Linked DNA regions of Homo sapiens: region 2 is linked to region 1. Evidence: promoter capture Hi-C in 16 types of primary human blood cells and fetal thymus (Javierre and others, 2016). All regions are on one chromosome and are shown on one strand. The core of a region is centred on a gene start or on the middle of the fragment in contact, and the rest is flanking DNA. Distances in the headings are between cores, read along the strand shown. Region 1 holds the start of PTGDR (prostaglandin D2 receptor). Region 2 overlaps RTRAF (RNA transcription, translation and transport factor).

What was found. The method cuts DNA at HindIII sites, captures the fragments that hold promoters and counts their contacts. A CHiCAGO score of 5 or more calls a contact.
Region 2: a fragment that was not itself captured here is called in contact with the fragment with the promoter of PTGDR in region 1 in 2 of 17 cell types (megakaryocytes and naive CD8 T cells); the score reaches 6.6 in megakaryocytes.

What each region holds. Positions count from the first base shown.
Region 1 is chr14:52,265,297-52,269,588 of GRCh38, forward strand. It overlaps PTGDR (prostaglandin D2 receptor), which reads left to right and starts at 2,402. Exons shown (of 2, transcript NM_000953.3): 1 at 2,402-3,364. The coding sequence starts at 2,519. The HindIII fragment of the contact is 7,987 bases long and covers 940-4,292 here.
Region 2 is chr14:52,009,286-52,013,577 of GRCh38, forward strand. It overlaps RTRAF (RNA transcription, translation and transport factor), which reads left to right. Exons shown (of 8, transcript NM_016039.3): 8 at 1-1,409. It overlaps NID2 (nidogen 2), which reads right to left. Exons shown (of 22, transcript NM_007361.4): 17 at 2,269-2,398; 18 at 1,591-1,762. Among named protein-coding and RNA genes, the nearest start is that of RTRAF, 22 kb to the left of the region's middle. The HindIII fragment of the contact is 4,390 bases long and covers 1-4,163 here.

The DNA of each region.
Region 1 (4,292 bases), core at 1,152-3,651:
TCTCGGGAACTGGGACAGAAGACTCCAAAGTTAGGCCTGAGAACAGGGTAGGGTGGACACCAGCAAAGCAATCAGGAAAGGCAACCGGAAACCCCATCGTAAAGGCCAGCTACAGTGGCTGAGAGGAAACGTGTGGTTTCCTGAATTGCACTTGTTCAAAACCTTCAACCTTAAAGCATGATGTATGTAAACCTTATCAAGGACCCACAGCTGGCCCAACAGTCACACTTTGGGGTTGTTTTCTTTAAAAGGTATTTGTAATCTTAGGGTTCCTAGGATAAATACGGAGTTGTAAGCCACTGTAGCATGAAAATAAAGCTGCAAAGAATTGAAGTAGGTATGCTTCAGAAGAACAACCCATGCAATATTTTTAGAGGAAGGATTCTTAAGCTAGTGTCCATTGGGTCTCCTCTGGGTACCATAGAAGGGCTTCAGGAAATGGTGAACAGCCTGAGATTGATGTAAAGTGTGTGTGTGTGTGTCTGCGTGTGTGTCTGTGTGTGTGTGCCTGTGTGTGTGTGTGTGTCTGTCTGTCTATGGAGGAGACCACAGCTTTCATCAAATTCTCATGTCTTTTGGTTATGGGGCCTGCTCTTCCTTTCACTTCATTAAGTCGAGTGGGGCTCTTCTAAACCCATTCTTATGTGCTAGGGGCTAGAGATGGGAATGAGAGAGAGTAGGTAGAAGACAAGGGAACTAACTCTATACAAGGCCTTCTATTGAGTCAATATAAGTGAAAGGCTTAGAGAGTGTCCAACCTGCATCAGGACCAATAAATATTAGCTCTTATTATTATTATTACACTATGCCAAAGCACTTCAAGTTTTCTCAACCTCACAACAACCCCACAAGTTCAGCATAAGTCTCATATTCCATTAGGTTGAACAACTAACCCAGGGTCACACAGCCAGTGGTGGAGTTCAGAACTATCTAATTCCAAGCTTAGATTCTTCTTTTCCACCCTGTGGCCTGAATTACTGGCCAGACTTTCAGTCTGGAGGCAGCCTCTCTGTCTACCCTTCAGGCTTTCACATCTAAATCCCAAGGGTCTTGCTCTTTCCCTGAGTCTGTCCATCAGAACTGGCATGAGGCCTAAAAATGAGCCGTTTCAAGCCCAGGCATCATCTACTCACTTACATAACAAAACCTTAGTCATCCCACTGAGATTCCACACTCAAAGCCAATTTCTCTCACAGGGCATCGAATGCTAGTTAAAGATATAAAATCACGCTTATCACAATTAACTCCCTTGCCTTTATGATGCAGCCAAGTCAAAGCCCAAACAGGAATAAATTTTTTCTAGTAGCCACAAATCAGAGGAGTGAGAAAGCTCTATGCCAAATCTACCATTTTCTGATTTCAAAATCCATGCTAAAAACTGCAGTTAAACATCAGCTACCAAAACACCCTTCTATCAAATAAGAATCATGGTGATTGCATGAATTGAGCACTTTCTATGTACTTGCTCTTTACGTGTTATTTCTATGCCTCAGAAGAGCCAAGCAGGCCAGATAGATGTTACTGCTTGAGAGGCTAAGCAAGTCCCATAAGGTCACACACACAGTGAGGAGCAGAACCTGGACTCAAACCCAGGCCTATCTGATGACAGCAACAGTGCTGCTAACCATGCCCTTCCCCCCAGCTCTCTACAGTCAATGTGATTCATGGCACCCAGGACCAACACCGGCTCTTGGCTTTCCCACAAACCACTTCCCTGAAATCTGGACAACTTCTTGGGAGGAGGAGTCATGGGAACAGGACAGATGAACTCCAAAATAGAAGATCGGGTGAGAGGTCCGGCTCTGCTACTTCTGTAGCTCTGTCACCACGGGCAGATCACTTAACTTTCCAAGGCCTCAGTTTCCTCGCCTATGCAATGGAGATGACCGTGAATGCCCCAAATTGCGCTGATCTAGTAGAGAAGAGGAGCTAAGGCTCAGGGGCTTTCCAGACGTGAGTTATCTTTACCTTTCCTTGACTAGCTAATTCAAGACAACTAGGTAGAAGCCCTTTCTCAGCCTCCCCTCTTCGCTCATCTTTCGAGTTCTTGGCCACCCCAGTTCAAACACCAGCACCATTGCCCTCCTCTCAGGTGGCTGCTGCTTAATTTCCCCTCCACTTTAGTAGTTCTTCTCTTGCCTCGCTAGAAGGACTGGTGTTGGGTGCTTGGAATTCTGGCTATTTTCCTCCTGCCGTTCCGACTCGGCACCAGAGTCTGTCTCTACTGAGAACGCAGCGCGTCAGGGCCGAGCTCTTCACTGGCCTGCTCCGCGCTCTTCAATGCCAGCGCCAGGCGCTCACCCTGCAGAGCGTCCCGCCTCTCAAAGAGGGGTGTGACCCGCGAGTTTAGATAGGAGGTTCCTGCCGTGGGGAACACCCCGCCGCCCTCGGAGCTTTTTCTGTGGCGCAGCTTCTCCGCCCGAGCCGCGCGCGGAGCTGCCGGGGGCTCCTTAGCACCCGGGCGCCGGGGCCCTCGCCCTTCCGCAGCCTTCACTCCAGCCCTCTGCTCCCGCACGCCATGAAGTCGCCGTTCTACCGCTGCCAGAACACCACCTCTGTGGAAAAAGGCAACTCGGCGGTGATGGGCGGGGTGCTCTTCAGCACCGGCCTCCTGGGCAACCTGCTGGCCCTGGGGCTGCTGGCGCGCTCGGGGCTGGGGTGGTGCTCGCGGCGTCCACTGCGCCCGCTGCCCTCGGTCTTCTACATGCTGGTGTGTGGCCTGACGGTCACCGACTTGCTGGGCAAGTGCCTCCTAAGCCCGGTGGTGCTGGCTGCCTACGCTCAGAACCGGAGTCTGCGGGTGCTTGCGCCCGCATTGGACAACTCGTTGTGCCAAGCCTTCGCCTTCTTCATGTCCTTCTTTGGGCTCTCCTCGACACTGCAACTCCTGGCCATGGCACTGGAGTGCTGGCTCTCCCTAGGGCACCCTTTCTTCTACCGACGGCACATCACCCTGCGCCTGGGCGCACTGGTGGCCCCGGTGGTGAGCGCCTTCTCCCTGGCTTTCTGCGCGCTACCTTTCATGGGCTTCGGGAAGTTCGTGCAGTACTGCCCCGGCACCTGGTGCTTTATCCAGATGGTCCACGAGGAGGGCTCGCTGTCGGTGCTGGGGTACTCTGTGCTCTACTCCAGCCTCATGGCGCTGCTGGTCCTCGCCACCGTGCTGTGCAACCTCGGCGCCATGCGCAACCTCTATGCGATGCACCGGCGGCTGCAGCGGCACCCGCGCTCCTGCACCAGGGACTGTGCCGAGCCGCGCGCGGACGGGAGGGAAGCGTCCCCTCAGCCCCTGGAGGAGCTGGATCACCTCCTGCTGCTGGCGCTGATGACCGTGCTCTTCACTATGTGTTCTCTGCCCGTAATTGTGAGTCCCCGGGCCCCGAGGCAGCAGGGCACTGAGACTGTCCGGCCGCGGATGCGGGGCGGGAAGGGTGGAGCGGATCGGGATGGACGCGGCGCCAGGCGAGCTGCGCCCTGGGCCAGGAAGGTTTGCTGCTGAGTTCCCCAAATTGGATTCCTTCCACAGCCCCGAGATATAACTCAGTTTGCGGAGCGAAATGAGGGAAAGTTAGAGAAAGGAAGGGAAAGGCTGAGCCCGGCGGTGTCTCCCTAGCCCAGCAAAACCCTCTCCATGTGGCAGAACTCCCTCCTCTCTGCTTCCTTCTGGGGAGATCTCGAGGTCATTTTTGCGCCTTAGGAGGAGCAGAACTTAGTTTCTCCTTGGCAACAGGAGTCTTCTACTTCCCGACGGCTGGGTGATGTTTTATTTTGTTAGACCTGCTCATGACTTCAGTGGTATCAGAAATGGGCGAATGGCGTCTGGGACGATCTTCTCCCCGGTGTTGGCATAGAAAGGGAAAAAGAGGTTTAAGCCAGCCAGAGTGATTTGCAGATGCATAGTTTTAATTTTGAAAAACGCGTGCGTAAACTTTGAGACGCCACGGCTGCTGTTTCTGGTGCTGCATCCGCCAGGGATTGTGGCGATGGAGGCCGAGGCTCTTTGTATGTTTTAGCTGCTGGTGTCGTTTTGACAACCTGACTTGACGGGTTTTGAGTGTATCTTGGCAAGTGAGGTGACATGAAAGCCATTATCTCCGGTTTCAATTTGGTAATGAGGATAGCGATGGAAATGAAATTATCTCCTCATTTTGAAGGCATTTGTTCCTGGAGTCCCCGCCAAGACACCTGGGAGTAGGTGAGGCTTGAGGAAACATTTTCAGTGCTGCTCCTCTCCTTTCTCCCAAGGTACCTGTTCAACAAAAACAATACTTACAGAAATTCCATTGCCAATC
Region 2 (4,292 bases), core at 719-3,218, 260 kb before region 1:
AATGATTTAATATCATCAACAACAATAAGTCTGAAACAAGCTCACACAGATATTTGGTGTAAATTATTTGGGGATTGCCAGAGGAAGAAAGTTGTAAAGGTGAAATCTATAGAAAGCAAATGAGAAATATGCAGGAAGGCTTGACAACCATTCTGTTACGCAGTTGAAGGAGATGTAATTACATGTGTTATATTGCAACCTGGTTCAAGGTGGGTTTTCTTTTTATTAAAAATTCAAGTCCTTTAGCATTTATATTTGCTGTCTGGATAAGAAAGTTCTACTTTCATATTTAAACTCATGGCTGTGATGTGGATTTCAGCTTAAAAGTATGCTTTTTCCCCAGACTCCAGAGACATGGCCAAAGTTTCATTGCCTACAAGATGGCAGCTCTCCCCAGTTTTCAGGTCAAGCACCAAGAAGGAATAAGGGGCCGGGCGCAGTGGCTCATACCTATAATCCCAGCACTTTGGGAGGCCAAGGCAGGTGGATCACCCAGGGTCAGGAGTTGGAGACCAAAATGGCGAAACCCTGTCTCGACTAAAAATACAAAAATTAGCTGGGCATGGTGGCACATGCCTGTAGTCCCAGCTACTTGGGAGGCTGAGGCAGGAGAATTGCTTGAACCCGGGAGATGGAGGTTGTAGTCAGCCGAGACTGTGCCACTGCACCCCAGCCTCGGCAACAAAGCAAGACCTTGTCTCAAAAAAAAGAAAAAAAAAAGAAAAAAGGACCTTCCAAATGTCCAAATGTCAGAAAGGCAAGCCTATGCAAAGAGTTTTTAAGAGGGCTATTAATTCCTGTTAAGTCAACTGGAATAGAGAAGGATACAGGTACTTTTCCTGTGTGTAGAACCCAAAGTTTGAAACCACCTTTGAGGCACTGCACTAAGTATTTCATAGTCAAAAAGCACTTACCTGAAAATTAAAGCTGAAGGTTTTCTTTACTGATTTGAAGGGCATCTGGGAATTTCATTTCGTAGAAACTCCACTTAAACATGGCAAGAGTTTCTCAAGATATAAAAATTCTCCCTGATTGTAACAAGTACTGAGACAGTGAACAAATCCTGTATGTCACATTTGATGACCTTAGCAATTATACAGACAGGGAAAATGTTTATCTTGATTTCTGCTACAGCAACACTGAAGCCAGAGGTGTCTGAGCTTTGGCTAATGTCACTTGATGTAGGTCAGCCCTACTGTGAGCGTCAACCCTGGTTTCTAAATGTGCTGCTGGAGGAATCCCACTTCACTTCCAGTTTAAGTGTCAGCTGAGGCCTCGCCTGATCATTTGATTCAGAGTAGCCCTAGTTCTCACAACACTATCTGAATTTTCTACATATCACATCACAGACTAATATTGTTTATACCAGTCTTGTTTCCTCCTAATAAAATATAAGTGCCATGAAAGAACAGACCTTGTCTTTTCCTAGAACAGGTCCTGACACCTCTTAGATCCTCAGTAAATCTTTGTTACATGAATGCATTTGAGCTTTCACTCTCTTGTTCTGACCTTCCCCACATTGTATTTAAAACCCAAGGGCTTCACATCAGGATCTACAGGTAAGAGAAGAATTAGGGAAGCCCAGCTGACCCTCGGATTGGATCCACAGCGATGGCACGGGGATTCACCAGATCTGTGTAGAAGAGGACCTTGCGCTCAGAGCCATCCAGCAGGGCGCTCTCTATCTTATCCAGGACACTGTCCGTCCAGTACATTGTTCTGCGGATGTGGTCTATGGCAAGTCCTTCAGGGCTTATCAGACCTGGAAATAAAGCAAAGTCAGGACTGGAGTGTTTGCAGGATATGGAGGGCAAACCTGAAGCCCTCCAACGGTCGGGTGGGCAGGGGGGTCAGCAGGGGAAAGCAAAGCCCAAGTGTCTCCAAGTCCCCAAGAACCAGGTTAATAGAGAAACAAGTACTTTTGTTACATATTCCACTACCTCTAGCTTCTAGACCAGCAGACCTACCAGTTTGATGACAACCGGCATCCACAGTGCCAGAGCCAGGCTGAATAAACGAAGGCGTCACCCTGAATTCTTACCATGAATTCTTTTAAGAAGTGCGCACAGTAGGAATCACCTATTTCATTCCGTATGTATGAAGGTGTTTGCTTACAGAGGGGGCTAGTCTTATACAGCTCAATAAAATGACTTGCCTAGAACTTAACCTCCCCTAATGGAGAAAAATCGAGGGGAGACTTCGGCGTAAAGTAGACAAGTGACTTTGTAGAATCAAATGAAATGCAGACTGCTGAGTGAAGCTGCTGACCTGAATTCACGATCGTCTCAGGCTCTGCTCCCAGTTCCAGACCAGCACGGCTGATTGTCCGTCCAGCAACATCTGTCCAGTACACCATCCTCTCCCGGCAGTCGTAATCAATTCCCACGATTATGGAGCCCTTTGTGCATCAAATCATAGAATTAGAAGAATTAGGTTACATTTCCCCTTTGTTCACACTCAGCTGCCTTGCTCATGCACAGCTGCAGTGAGCAACACTGCACTGTGATCCTGCAGGCAACAGAGCAGAGTAGCTGGACATGTGGGCACTCGGGTGAAATCTAGGCTCAGCCACTTAGTAGCCATGTGGCTTTGGGCATTTAACCTCTATGCGTTTGTCTCATTTGCAAAATGAGGCCAATAGTGTACCTGCCTCATATGGTTGCTATAAAAATTAATACTATAAGTGCTTGTAAAGTGTCCTAATCAGTAATTGGCATACAGTAAGCCCTTCAATAGGTGCTATTATGACTGATGATTTAAAAAAAAAAAAAAATCAGCCCCTTCAGTAATTAGAGGACATGGCCTTAAGCAAAATAAGTTTTTAATATTTTACTGGGTAAAAACTGAATCTTTTCCCAATGTCATCAGCACTTTTCCCAGAGCCTTAATAAAATTTGCCACTATATGCCAACAAAATCTACTCTCCCCTCCTCTGTGAATGAGATCTTTCCTCTACCTGAAGTACAATCACCTATACTCCTGCCCCTGACTCTTAGGAGGCAAGATGTTGGTTATATCCTGTACTAAAGAAAGTGTAGTCAGGCACAGTGACTCACGCCTGTAATCCCTGTCCGTTGGGAGGCCAAAGCAGGAGGATTGCTTGAGCCCAGGAGTTCGAGACTGAGCAACATAGTGAGACCCCGTCTAAAAAACAAAAAATAAATGAACTGGGCATGGTGGCACGCACCTGTAGTCCCAGCTACTCAGGAGACCGAGTTGGGAGGATCGCTTGAGCCCAGGAAGTCAAGGCTGCACCAAGCCGAGATGGTGCCACTGCACTGCAGCCTGGGCAACACAGAGCTACACCCTGTCTCAAAAGAAGGAAAAAATCTAATTTATTGGGTTAAGGAACTAGGGAGTAGTGGTTATCCAACCTCTGGCTAGTGAGGTCTCTCCTCCTCATTGCTAAATAAATGACAAGTCTTTTAAAAAAATAATAAAAATAAAAAAAATGCTGAGTCTGATATTTTTCCTCAACTCCATGCAGAACTTGCTTCATTCAGTTTCCAATCCAGGCTCCTGCTCTGAGAAGCCCAGCAGATGTGCAAAGCCAACATTCAGGGGTTAGCTGGCTGTCCCTGAGGTCATACAAGTTCCTGCCTTGCCTAACAGCCTCCTGGGGCTTGGCTTCACTTACGCCCCCTGGGAGCGTAGTCAGCCAAGAAAGATTGTACAAAACGGGATTTGGCTTCAGTGGAAAAACAGGCAGCTTATATGGGGGGCGGGCCTAAGGTCAACTACACTTTTATTTGAAAATTGAAAAGTCGTTTGTCCCAGGCAAGAGTACACATTCAAATGAGCTTCCATTAACCCGGGAATCATGGGATTCATAAACCCATGTCATAACCTCAGGTTAGAGAAAAAGTCCCAGTTTAAGTAAATTTCCTTAAAATGTGCAAATAACCCACGTCCCATTTCTTTCAGTTCCACTACCACTACCATCACCACCCTGTCCTGGTCAGGGGCATGTTCAGAAAGGCAATCAAGCTCTATGACTTGAATAAAAGAGGGTTAGCTTAAAGTGATGTCAACTTCTTAGTCTCTACCTCTTCCAGAGAAAGTTTTACAAAACAATGTGAGAGTTTTCTTGGGGGAGGGGACAGGACCCAACAAACTCGAATCTTAAAAAGAACACATCTCTTCCTAAACACTGGCTGCCTCTAAGCTTTTCTGGAACCAAATAAGTGTCGTTCATTAACAGAAGTAAATGTAAACTTGAATGCCGTACTATTCTTTCTCAGGGATGAGCAAGTGCCTGGAGTGTGAAGTTCAACAATGGAATCAGATGATTT